Regions from separate parts of the Homo sapiens genome. Here regions 1 and 3 are each linked to region 2. The links are contacts of gene promoters, found by promoter capture Hi-C in blood cells and fetal thymus (Javierre and others, 2016). All regions are on one chromosome and are shown on one strand. The core of a region is centred on a gene start or on the middle of the fragment in contact, and the rest is flanking DNA. Distances in the headings are between cores, read along the strand shown.

The links. The method cuts DNA at HindIII sites, captures the fragments that hold promoters and counts their contacts. A CHiCAGO score of 5 or more calls a contact.
Region 1: a fragment that was not itself captured here is called in contact with the fragment with the promoter of CSNK1D in region 2 in 1 of 17 cell types (activated CD4 T cells); the score reaches 5.7 in activated CD4 T cells.
Region 3: a fragment that was not itself captured here is called in contact with the fragment with the promoter of CSNK1D in region 2 in 1 of 17 cell types (activated CD4 T cells); the score reaches 5.1 in activated CD4 T cells.

The regions. Positions count from the first base shown.
Region 1 is chr17:82,573,168-82,577,781 of GRCh38, reverse strand. All of the region lies in intron 4 of FOXK2 (forkhead box K2), which reads right to left. It also overlaps the pseudogene ARL2BPP9. Among named protein-coding and RNA genes, the nearest start is that of FOXK2-AS1, 13 kb to the left of the region's middle. The HindIII fragment of the contact is 4,658 bases long and covers 1-3,999 here.
Region 2 is chr17:82,271,777-82,275,847 of GRCh38, reverse strand. CSNK1D (casein kinase 1 delta) reads left to right here and starts at 2,148. Exons shown (of 9, transcript NM_001893.6): 1 at 2,148-2,542. The coding sequence starts at 2,467. LOC124904089 (a long non-coding RNA gene) reads right to left here and starts at 2,070. Exons shown (of 2, transcript XR_007065953.1): 1 at 775-2,070. RefSeq lists silencers at 2,009-2,218, 2,459-2,648, 2,699-2,748. The HindIII fragment of the contact is 9,296 bases long and covers 796-4,071 here.
Region 3 is chr17:82,527,638-82,531,902 of GRCh38, reverse strand. All of the region lies in intron 1 of FOXK2 (forkhead box K2), which reads right to left. Among named protein-coding and RNA genes, the nearest start is that of FOXK2, 10 kb to the right of the region's middle. The HindIII fragment of the contact is 2,689 bases long and covers 851-3,539 here.

The DNA of each region.
Region 1 (4,614 bases), core at 421-2,920, 300 kb before region 2:
TGGGCAACAGAGTAAGACTCTGTCCCCAAAAAAATAAATAAAACAAAAATAAATAAAAGGAACCAGCTCTAGTCCCTTTGGAGGCTGAGAGGCCCGTCCTTTCAAACTTCTCATAGTCACAACAATTATCTCAATTCTGGGTGAAGTAAAATCATAAAACCATAAAAATCATTTTGGAGTCACCGAGACCTTGGCCCGCAGTGTCGGCGGTATGCACAGAGGGCCCGGCGGGGCCCTAACCCAGGGCTGGGCCTGGCACGCAGGTGCTGCCCTGACTGGGCAGTGAGCACGCCGCAGCTTTGGCTGCGAGACCTTAACCCGGCCGCCCGCCACGCCCTGCATGCAGGTTGGGCCACAGGCGGGGTAGGAGCCTGCTCGGGGCTGCAGTGATGGACACCTTAGAAGAAGAGAGCTTTGTGCTGTCTTTCTCCTCCACCTCTGATGAATTTGCTGTTGTGGTTGGATATTTAGAGAACGTTATCATGGATAACGAGTTCCAGTTATTACAGAGAAATTACATGGACAAGTACTACCTGGAGTTTGAAGACACGGAAGAGAATAAACTCACCTACACACCTATTTTTAATGAATACATTTCTTTTTTTCTTTTTCTTTTTTTGAGACGGAGTTTTGCTCTTGTTGCCCAGGCTGGAGTGCAATGACGCGGTATCAGCTCACCGCAGTCTCCGCCATGTGGGTTCAAACAATTCTCCTGCTTCAGCCTCCTGAGTAGCTGGGATTACAGGCACGCACCACCACACCCCGCTAATAATATTGTATTTTTAGTAGAGATGTAGTTTCTCCGTGTTGGTCATCTGGTCTCGAACCCTCCAACCACAGGTGATCTGCCGGCCACAGCCTCCCAAAGTGCTGGGATTACAGGCGTGAGCCACCGCACCCAGCCTGCATACATTTTTTTGGTAGAAAAATATATTGAAGAACAGCTGCTGGAGCGGATTTCTGGATTCAACATGGCAGCTTTCACCACCACATTACAGCACCATAAAAATGAAGCAGCTGGTGACATATTCGACATGCTGCTACGTTCACGGTTTTGGACTACAGAGCAGAAAAAGAAGGCCGAGGACTAGACTTAAGCAGTGGCTTAGTGGTGACTTCGTTGTGTCAATCATCTTCTGTGCCAGCTTCCCAGAACAATCTGCGGCACTGGGTCCTCCCTCCAGCCAATGAATTGGAACATTCTGGATGTCACCAGCCCAACAGGCTCAGCTCATGATGACAGAATACATCTTGGAAAAAGACTGACTCTGTTTTGTAATTCTTCATTTATGTTAAGTATTGACAGGTCAAAACCAAAATGACTTAACCCTCCTAGACCTATTTCTCCTGAAACACCTTCTTGTATTCATTAACCGTAGTATTCCTCCCCTCCTCAAGGAGACACTTCTCTCAGGAGCTTCTGAGTCAGACGCCTCTGGAGCGAGCCCATGTCCAGCACTCCACTTGGGGGGTCCTTCCCCGAGCACACACGCTGGTGTGGACGAACCCGCCGCCGCCACCCGAGCACACACGCTGGTGTGGACGAACCCGCCGCCGCCACCCGAGCACACACGCTGGTGTGGACGAACCCGCCGCCGCCACCCGAGCACACACGCTGGTGTGGACGAACCCGCCGCCGCCACCCGAGCACACACGCTGGTGTGGACGAACCCGCCGCCGCCACCCGAGCACACACGCTGGTGTGGACGAACCCGCCGCCGCCACCCGAGCACACGCTGGTGTGGACGAACCCGCCGCCGCCACCCGAGCACACACGCTGGTGTGGACGTGTGGACGAACCCGCCGCCGCCACCCGAGCACACACGCTGGTGTGGATGAACCCGCCGCCGCCACCCAAGCACACACGCTGGTGTGGACGTGTGGATGAACCCGCCGCCACCCTCTGTCCCAGCAGGCTCTGCGTGAATCTTTGCGCATCTGCATCTCTTTATCTCTTCTTCACATGGGTCAGTTTCAGTACTTCAGCCTCAATGGGGTTCCTGATGTCTATCTAGGGTGTTACTCAAGCCCAGCTTGAGATTTCAGAATCTCCTGTGATCACAGCTTGTCTCGGCTGTAGCAATCAACAGAAAGAGACGTCCTCTACATAAAAGTTCCACGTGAAAAGCCACTCCTAGTCTTAACATTTGCAGTCCTTGTGTCGCTGTCTTCTGCTCCTGATGTAGTCCCACTGTTTCTAGAAGTCTCTTTTAAGCATTATTTTAAAAATATATATTTTTATAGATGAATACTCAGGCTAATCTAGTGGATATGATCTTGGGACTTCCATGCTTATCCACTTAAAGATCAAAGTACTATATGCCGTGTGCTTTTTAGGTGTTAGTGCTGTGAAGGCAAAAATGCTTTCTACAATGGCGTTCCTTCCTATTTGACTGGGCACCTACGAATTTATGCTGTGTGCTAGAAATAGACTAAAACATTCTTACAGCATGTTAGTGTGTTTGCGTGTTTGCTGAAGATCACTTCGGTATAAACCAGTTTGTTAGGCTCTCTGGGTTAGGGACTCTGCATTTTCTTCCTCTCCTACCGAGATGGTGTTCCACTGGTCCAGCCCGGCAGGAGCAGCAGGCAGGGCACAGCTTTACTGGCTGTTTGCTGCTTTGCTTTAGTGCAATGTGTGGTACATTACTTATCAGAAAACACGTATGTCATCTCTAGAAAGAAGAAAAAGCATAGTAGTTCAATGCCCAGTGTGTCCCTTTGATTTGTTTAATAGTAAAAATAAGACTCTGTACTGACTTTTCACTTGGCCGTCCTGGTTTTAAAGGACAAGCTACAAGCTCTGTGTTTTCTGTACTGAAGTGTCACTTATTAAATACTTTTGTACCATGAAAAAATCAAATCATAGGACGTAAATGCAAACAAAAGAAAGACATATGGCATCTTTTCAAATAGGATTCCTCAGACCATCTCATTTCACCCTCAGATGTCCTCTGTGGATTGACCAAAAAGCTATACCATAGGTAGACAATACAAAACACCTGGCTTTTGTTGTAAGCCAGGAGGGAGGAAGTCAGAATAAGGTCTGAGGCACTGGGAAGGGCGGCTCAGAGAATCTCATGGCACAGGAAGAGCCCGTGAGGGTCAGTATTCTGACAGCCAAGGGTACAGCTGAGGACAGAAAGAAATTCAAAGTACATTGGCCAGGCGCGGTGGCTCACGCCTGTAATCCCAGCACTTCGGGAGACCGAGGCAGGCAGATCACCCGAGGTCGGGAGTTCAACACCAGCCTGACCAACATGGAGGAACCCCGTCTCTGCTAAAAATACAAAATTAGCCGGGTGTGGTGGCTCAAGCCTGTAGTCCCAGCTACTCATGAGGCTGAGGCAGGAGAATCGCTTGAACCTGGGAGGCGGAGGTTGCAGTGAGCCGAGATCGCGCCATTGCACTCCAGCCTGGGCAACAAGAGCAAAACTCTATCTCAAAAAAAAAAAAAAAAGAGAGAGAGTAATGTCCATGAACTAGGAGGAATCTGGAGAAACTAATCCCTCTCCCGCTTAATTAGCTGGAGCCACGAGGCATGAAATGACACAGGAGTGGCCTTACTGGGGAAAGAGATGCAGCTGTAGACTTACAGACCTCCATCTAGACAGGAGAGAAAATGTTTCAACAGAAACAAGTTTAATAGCAGTTCAGCAGAGAAGGGTGCCTGACGTGTGCTAGTCTGTCATTCCCTGCCGACGTGAGCTGTGCAGGCACCTGCAATAGACGACAGAAAGCAGGGCATGCATGAGGGGTCCCGTGGGGTCCTCGCCACTTCACGACTGTGGTCCAGGAGAGCCTTGCTCCAAGGGCTCTGCTCCCCAAAAGACCTGTCCTGACTTGGGCCCCCCCAAAACTGAGGCCAGGCCTTTATCCAGCCACCCTCTTTAGCAAGAAAGCCTTGTCCTGTTCATAGGTAGTTCTCAAATAAATGGATGTTAGAAAAAACACACAGAAATACCACTTAAGAGAAACACATTAGAGTCTAATAAAGCTTCTTAGAAACACACTGACAAAGCCCCAGGTAACTGGTATCTCAAACCATCAGAATAAGCTGTAAACTCTGAGGGACCCTCACACACTCCCACAGAGCAAGCTGGACCCCATGTGGAGTTTCTCTCCTTGACAAAGCCATAAAGCCATGGTCACTGGAACATGGGTAGAAGTTATTATCTGGTTGTGTGTGTGTGTGTGTGTGTGTGTGTGTGTGTGTGTGAGAGAGAGAGAGAGAGAGAGAGAGAGTGTGTGTGTGTATGTATATAGTTTGAAGCACAGCCTCAGTTTTATAGAGTAAATACGGCCAGAATTTAGCATGCAATATGTTAAGAGACCCTGACATGTAACTGAATATGGAACTACTCTCCAAATCCAGCATTTTCCTAATGGTCAATTAAGAGATACCCCCTTGCTGTAGACAGGAAGGCAGGCAGGACAGGGTATAGACACTCCAGGTATGGGGGGTGGGCACAAGGTGGGCCAGAGGGGAGGCTGGGTCTCATTCTGTACCTTCCATGATTAAAGACCCCCAAGCCCCTCCACAAAGGAAATATGGAAGACGTGGCTGGTAGGCTTTTTTTTTCCTTTTTGAGACAGGGTCTTGCTCTGTCACCC
Region 2 (4,071 bases), core at 899-3,398:
ATTCCTGAGAAATCCACCCCCATGACCCAGCCACCTCCAGCCTTGGGGTTTACAATTCAACATGAGGTTTAGTGTGGACAAATATACAAATTACCTCATGATTCTTCATAAATTTCCCAGCCTCAGGTGTTTCTTGATAGCAACAGTAAAGGAGCTAAGACACTGTGGCGTTCAGTTGTATCAGGACAGACCTGGGTGTGGGCTGGCCCTCATACGTCCTGCCGGGAGCTCTGGGGGCTTTCCAGTCTGCAGGTCGGGACGTCCTTCTACTCTGAGATGTTCTAGTATCATCAAACCGCCCCACAGACCATGCCTGGAGACTCTGCCTCACACATCCGTTCCCAGCGGTCACCAGCCCCGCATCCCTCCCTCGTCACCGCATCTGTGCGTCTCCTCTGTGACGGAGGCTGTTCCTTGGCAATGACTATCCTCAGCTTCAGCCCCCTGCTGACAGTTTTCTAGCTCAGAACCTGGCCATGTCTGCACCCTCCCTGTCTTCTCGGAAGGGGTGCTGTCATTCCCTGGGCTACACACCTGCTTTGTCCTCCTCTCTCTGACCCCAGGGCTCCAGGGTACCACTGTCCTCTTCCTTTGTCAGTTTGTTGTGGCTGGGGCTGGTGGTGGGGGAGCCACAGCAATCAGCCTGCCTCACCTTGCCCAGCCCGCATGTTCCCAGGGCTCCTGCCATCCCCACTACACCACAGCCCAGTCCGTGTGCACGGGTTATAGAGTCAAGACACAAACACACAAAAGCCAGGCAGACGGGCACAGTACCTGCCGCAGCTGCATGAAGCTTGGGGCACTATGGGTGAGAAGAGCTAGAAATGTTGGGGCCATCAGAGCCCAGGAGGACCAGCCGAGGGAGGAGCAGCTGACAGGTGGGCAGGTGCCCCTAGTCAGGGACAGCAGGACTCCCCAGGAAGAAGGATCACAGCCACCCGTGGGAGAGCTGGACTCTGTTCATCAACAGAAAAGCCGTGAGCGATTCCGCCAACAAGGTCAGTTTTACTAGTCTGGCAGCCCCCCACCCCCGGCTTCTGTAACTCAGAAACTGGGCAGTTCCGACTGCCCATCCCTCATTAGTGACTGATGGTGGTCTGGCCGGCGGCATCTCCTGTCTCCAGGCCCTGCTATGTAATTTCGGGAATGGACGCCCGTCTCCCCGACCTGACCTCCAGCTGTTTGGAGCTGAGGGGTGGAGAGGAAAGACTGGGGGGTGGAGAAAGGCGAGCACCACTGTGGGGCCTGTGGGGGCTGCTTTCCTCTTCTGCAGTGACCTGGACGGGCTGAGGCTGCTGTCTCACTCACACGGCGGTGCCCACACCACAGCCCTGGTATGCTAATGCGTCAAAACACACCTTCACCTGTTTCACATTCTTGAGTTTCAGCGAGGATGCGACAGGTCTCGAGACACATGGACGTGGGACCATGGGGACGGGTTCTTCAAGGTCCCCATGCACCTGCAGCCTGGGGGGGCTTGTCTGAAGGGCTTTCTTCCCAGTGATGGGAATCAAAGGCCCCGATCTTTGAAGCTGGCCATCAGCCTGAACGTCCACTCCTTGTTTCCTTTGCAAGGAGGAACATTCAGATCCAACACAGATAAGAATGTTGACTCCGTCTCCAGGCCGCAGGGACTGGAGGGAGGCAGGTGGTCTGGCCTCATTTTGTGAAAGGTGGTGGCTTTGTCCTCAATCTTCAGGCTGGACATCAGGACCTCCCAGGGCGCGGGCCTGCTCTGTCTCTGGCCTTAGGTGTCAGGAGGTAAGGCCGCAGACGCTGACGTACTGGGATGCCCCAAGCCCGGGAACTGGCAGCCCAGTGAGGGGGTCTCACCTGTGTCCCCTGAGCCTGGCCTGTCACTCTGTCCACGCCTCAGCTACCTGTCCCCTCCTGCAAAGGGCACCGCCTGTCGCGAGGAACTCACCTGGCTTCCTCGACATCTCGGGGGACACACGAAAAGCCCCCGCGAGAGCAGCAGGAGCCTGCACGTGGAAGGGGCTGGCGGCCCGAGGTCCCGGGGTAACAGGAGGGCAGAGGGGCTGGGCACGGCGCAGGGTCGGGAGGAGGCCTGGAGCGCTCGCCCCGCCCGGCCCCGCCCCTGGAGCGCCGCGGCCCCGCCCCGCCGGGTTGCTAGGGGAAGTGACGTCACAGCGCGATGGCGGCGGCTCCTTTAGGCAGCTGAAAGGGGATTTAGGCCCGGAAGATCCGAGTCCATCCGCGGCGGGGAGAGGGCAAGCGGGACCGGTAGGGGCCGGAGCAGCGGCGGCGGCGCTCGGACTGTCCCATCCGCCCCGTATTGAGGCGCTGGGAGCGGCGGGGCGACAGGAAAGCGATGGTGAAAGCGGGGCCGTGAGGGGGGCGGAGCCGGGAGCCGGACCCGCAGTAGCGGCAGCAGCGGCGCCGCCTCCCAGAGTTCAGACCCAGGAAGCGGCCGGGAGGGCAGGAGCGAATCGGGCCGCCGCCGCCATGGAGCTGAGAGTCGGGAACAGGTACCGGCTGGGCCGGAAGATCGGCAGCGGCTCCTTCGGAGACATCTATCTCGGTGAGGCCCCGCCGCCCCCGCCCGCCGCCCGAAGACCCGGGCCCTGCGGCTGCCAAGACCAAGCGCGATCGCGGAAGGAAGTGGTGGCCCCCGCGGGGTCTCCGCGCAAGTCCCGGCACCGCCGGATCGTGGCCAGAACCCAACGGCCACTAGGCTAGCGCGGCCAGGGGTGGGGAGGGCAGTGGGGAGCGGACGTGGGGGAGGGGCAGGACCAGGTCGGGGGAGCAGGGTCTGGAGAGGGGAGGGTTGGGGAAGGAGGGGATAGGGGAGCTGACCCGGGGTGGGGCATGGTCTCTGGGGAGCCGACCTGGGTAGGGGCAGGGTCGTGGGGAGCGGACTCGGGAAGGGCTGGGTGGGGCGTGGGGAGGCGGGCCTGGGGGAGGGGCAGGGCGGGGGTGGGGGCAGCGGGCCGTGGGAGGGGAGGGGGTAGGGCTGGGGCCGCGAAGCGGGCGTCGGCTTCCTCTACGCCTAAGGTCACCGCAGTAAACAAAGGCCACGCTCTTTCTTCCGCAGCCCGGTCCGGGGCTGTCTGGCTGCCCCCTCAGAGGCTGCCCCGGTGTCTTGCATTCGTGGGGGAAAATGTCAGAAAGACCCAAATGCCGTGTGGAGCGGGGGAGTGGCCCGGCTAGGAGTGGGGCTTGCCCTCCCGCTGGGGGTTCTCTCTGAACGGTTCCCCTTGGCCTTGGAGCGGTGACTGAGTGCAAATGAGCAAGGGTTAAGTTTAGGTGAATGTAGAGAAAGTCACACAGGATTAAGATGCTGGCAAGATGAGAGGCAGATGAGGTAGTTGTACTCATGAGGTGTCCTTTAGACTGTAACAGTCTCAAGGTAGATTTCAAAAACAATGGGATTAGAAGGTTTTGGGTTGTGTCATATTTACAATGGAAAAATATGCACGTGAACACAAGTGTGATGAAAGGTTGGCTTAAATCTTCAAGTTTGTAATTTTTTTTTTTTTCCTGAGACGGAGTTTCGCTCTTGTTGCCCAGGTTGGAGTGCAATGGCGTGATCTCGGCTCACCGCAACCTCTGCCTCCCAGGTTCAAGCGATTCTCCTGCCTCAGCCTCCCGAAAAGCTGGGATCACAGGCGTGCGCCACCACGCCTGGCTAATTTCGTATTTTTAGTAGAGACGGGGTTTCTTCATGTTGGTCAAGGCTGGTCTCGAACTCCGGACCTCAAGTGATCCGCCCAGTTCGGCCTCCCGAAGTGCTGGGAAGCCACCGCGCCTGGCCCAAGTTTGTAATTTTAAAGTAACTTAATTTTCCGCACTTGTTAGTGGGATTGTGCAATGCACGAGTTATTCCAAGATCCCCTGAATTTGAGGATATGTAGCCTGAGGCGGTGTGCCTGCAGAGGGGCTGCTGCAGACCTTTGAGGGGAGCTGTTTTCTGTTCCAGCAGCCCTAGCTTTGGGGTGTGTTTTAACTGGGGCACCTGTCAGCTAGGGTCAGGAATCCCCTGGGATGTCAGTAATGCCTCTGGTCATACCTTTTAGATGAAGCCACATGTGGACAGTCTCCAGTTCTCAC
Region 3 (4,265 bases), core at 946-3,445, 260 kb before region 2:
CGCCATTGCACTGCAGCCTGGGCGACAAAAGCGAAACTCCTTCTCAAATAAATAAAGTATAGCCTAAATGTCCAGTGTTTATGAAGTTGACAGCGGTGTACAGTCACGTCCTAGGCCTTCACATTCACTCACCATTTACTCACTGACTCACCCCGTCCTGCAAGCTCTGCTGACACTAAGTGCTCTAGAGAGCTGTACCTTTATCTTTTGTACCTTATTTTTACTGTGCCTTTTCTATGTTTTAATATGTTTAGATACACAAACACCATGTTACAGCATTCAATACAGTCACATGTTGCTTAAGTTTGTGCAGCATGTGGCTGTAGGCGCAACAGGATATACACACAGCCTGGGTGTGCAGCAGGCTGTGTCATCTAGGCTTGTACAAGTATGCTCTATGATGTTCGCACAACAATGAAATCACCTAACAATGCATTTCTCAGAATGATTTCCACAGTTAAGTGATGCATGACTGTACAAGGCCAAAAAAGTCACTTTGGGGAGTCTACCATCAACAAAAACAAAAAAAAGTGGGAGCAACTGTAGAATCAGAAGTGAATTTAATCTGACTTACATTTATAACTGTTTTACATGGTTTCCTATGGTACAGTAGTCACCCAATCCAAACTCAGAAGCCCACATCCAACCAATTCAGCAATAAACATTTGAGTCCTATCGAGTACCCAGAATTCCTGGAGGAGGTCACCCAGGGGTCAAAGGCTACAACCCCAGGAAGTGTACAATGTAAAGATGAATCAGCCCAGCCCACAGAACACTTACATGCAGTTCACTCAAGTGTACAGGATTTCAGCTGTGTTTAATCACGTGTGGACAAGTCCAGGGGGAAGCTTGGCAAAGTGGGAACAGGTCCTCAAGGAGGACCCAGAACAGACATTTTATATTTAAACCACATCTTCTTCCACCCAGCTCAAATGGCTATCAAAATGATGTTCATTATCCTAACATCCTCCAACAGCTCAGAAATGGCAAAAACACAGAATTTTTAAAACATTCTCTATATACTCAAAATGCTATCGTATTCTGAAAAATACAAGACCAAAAAAGCCACTTTGAAAACACAACAGTAGACCGGGCACAGTGACTCACACTTTGGCCTGTGATCCCAACACTTTGGGAGGCCAAGACAGGGGAATCACCTGCAGTCAGGAGTTTGAGACCAGCCTGGCCCACATGGTGAAACCCCGTCTCTACTAAAAATACAAAAATTAGCAGAGCGTGGTGGTGGCGCCTGTAATCCCAGCTACTCGGGAGACTGAGGCAGGAGAATTGTTTGAACCCGGGAGGAGGACGTTGCAGTGAGCTGAGATGGCGCCACTGCACTCCAGCCTGGGTGACAGAGCGAGACTCTGTCTCAAAAAAAAAAAAAAAAAACACATCAGTAGTTTTAAATTTCCTTATTTCGGGTTTTCTCTCTCTTTTTTTTTTTTTTTTTTTTTAGATGGAGTTTCACTCTTGTTGCCCAGGCTGGAGTTCAAGTGATTCTCCTGCCTTAGCCTCCCGAGTAGCTGGTATTAGAGGCATGCGCCACCACACCCAGCTAATTTTGTATTTTTAGTAGACACAGGGTTTCTCCATGTTGGTCAGGCTGGTCTCGAACTCCCGATCTCAGGAGATCCGCCTGCCTCAGCCACCCAAAGTGCTGGGATGACAGGCGTGACCCAACGTGCCCGGCCTATTTCAGGTTTTCTATATTCCATCTGTCCAAATGAAAGTCAAAAGATGAGTTTTCTTACTGCCAATTATTAATGACTAAACACCATTAAAAACAGCACCTTGAGAGCCATCTTTCCCAGCGTGGCTGTGCTAACAATGACGTCACATCATCAGTTCATTCTCCAGTGGAACCAGGAACACAAAAAACTGGAACAATTCAGCTACAGCTCATTGTCTTTTTTCCCACTAAAGATAAACGTTCTCAGAATATCTGTATCAATGTAACTAAGGTATTCCTAGTTCTCAGAATATCTGTATCAGCCTAATTAAGTCAATAAATACGACTAAGAGAACACATTACAAACGTAACAATGTTAGGCTACTACTGCCTTAAGGGACCTAGTTGTATCTTCTTACAACCAGGGATAGCAAGACAGAACTGCATTCCGAGAGTGTCCTTTCAAAGCTGCAAAGGGAGGAGTTATCTAGTGACTCCGCAATGAGTCTCAACCTCCAGGCTCTGTTTTACAAAAGGCACTTTCAGGTGGGGCGCCATGGCTCACGCCTGTAATCCCAGCACTTTGGGAGGCCGAGGCAAGCGGATCACCTGAGGTCAGGAGTCCGAGATCAGCCTGGCCAACATGGTGAAACCCTGTCTATTAAAAATACAAAAATTAGCTGGGAGTGGGCACGCGCCTGTAATCCCAGGTACTCAGGAGGCTAAGGCAGGAGAATCACTTGAACCTGGGAGGCGGAGGTTGCAGTGAGCCAAGATCGTGCCACTGCATTCCAGCCTGGACGACAGAGCAGAACTCCATCTTGAAAAAAAAAAAAAAAAAATTAGCCGGCGTGGTGGCACGTGCCTGTAATTCCAGCTACTCAGGAGGCTGAGGCAGGAGAATCGCTTGAACCCGGGAGGTGGACACTGCAATGAGCCAAGATCACACCACTGCACTTCAGCCTGGGAAACAGAGCAAGACCCTGTCTCAAAAAAAAAAAAAAAAAAAAAAGGCGCTTTCAAGTATAATTTGAACAGATGCTTTGGTAGCATAAAGGTTTTAAGCAGGAATCATCTGTAAAAAAAATTATTAAAACTTACCACCAGTAGGACCAAGAGTCATAACCAACTTTTATTATATTATCAGCTGCCAGGTTGCTACGCAACAGGCGGCTCTCCCCTCCTGCGTCCTGTGCGTTGTAAGATTTTTCAGTGGCATCCCTGGCCTCTGTCCACTAGATGCCAGTAGCACCCGTCCTCCCAGTCTATGCCAACCAAATGTGCCTCCAGACACTGTCATACGTCCCAGGGAGGGGAAGGAGGCAGACTCACCCCGGTGTCGTACTCCAATGCCCTTCACAGGACAAAGAACACAAGCATTCCATCTCAAATGACAAACTGCAGCAAAAACCAAATACTGTCTAGAAATCTACGGAATTCTCAGCAGAGCACCTTCTCTGTTCCTAACAAATCAGCAGAGGCGTTTGAAGCCCAATGTGCACTCTAAACTGACGTGCACGAGGAAAGCAGGGCCGCAGGGGCTGTGGCTCTGGCACGAGGTACTTTCTGGTCTCCCTGCCACCACTTCCTAGGTACAGCTGTAACACCTTGTTCCGTGCTCAAAGCCCGCTTCACATTGTAGAGATGGTAATGTGTGCCTTAAACATGCCCTCCTGTACTGCATTTTAGCAGCAAATTCAAAAATTCCTCATGAAAAAGTGTGGAGGTTGATTTACTATGACTGTCATTATTTAAGATATTATAAATTGCTCCAAAAACCAAACATAAAAGAAAACAAGAGCCCCACAAAAATGTTAAACAGATAAGAATACTACTACCCAAATGCCAACTGCTTTCACTAAAAGCTTCCTTAATTTAGAAATCCTCTTTTCTTCATTTTCCAAAAAAATCTTTCTCTTCAACAAAGCAGGAATAGTTACATTTTCACAATGGAAAAATCTGCTGTTACTGTAACAGCCTCATCTCCTGGAATATTTCCACCAATCATGCACAGAGCTGTGCTGTACTTCTGCAACCGCAGGTCTAAATGGGACCTGCCAGTAAATGGGGGAGCCACGCCTGACTACAATCACTTCACTATTAATAAATGATCAGCACTTGAAAACATGTATAGGCCAGGCAGGGTGGCTCGCACCTGTAATCCCAGCACTTTGGCAGACTGAGGTGGGGGGACTGCTTGAGGACAGGAATTTGCGACCAGCCTGGGCAACATAGCGAGACCCCACGTCCAAAAAAAAATAAATTAGCCCTGAATGGCCATGCAGGCCTGTACTCTCAGCTACACGGGAGACTGAGGTGGGAAGATCGCTTGAGTCCAGGAGTTCAAGGCTGCAGTGAGCTATGATGGTGCCACTGTACTCCAGCCTGGGTGACAGAGTGAGACTCTAAATAATAAAATAAAAGGAACACAGAGTTTTACCACTGGAAGAAGTACTAAACACTAAGGTGAGGCAGAAGTAAGTTGGTTACTGGGTTTTTAACTTAAAGTAACAATTATGCTAAAATAGCTGCAATGTGTTCTGTGTCTACAAATCAGTGATAACAATGTATCTCAATTTGCCAAATGAATATC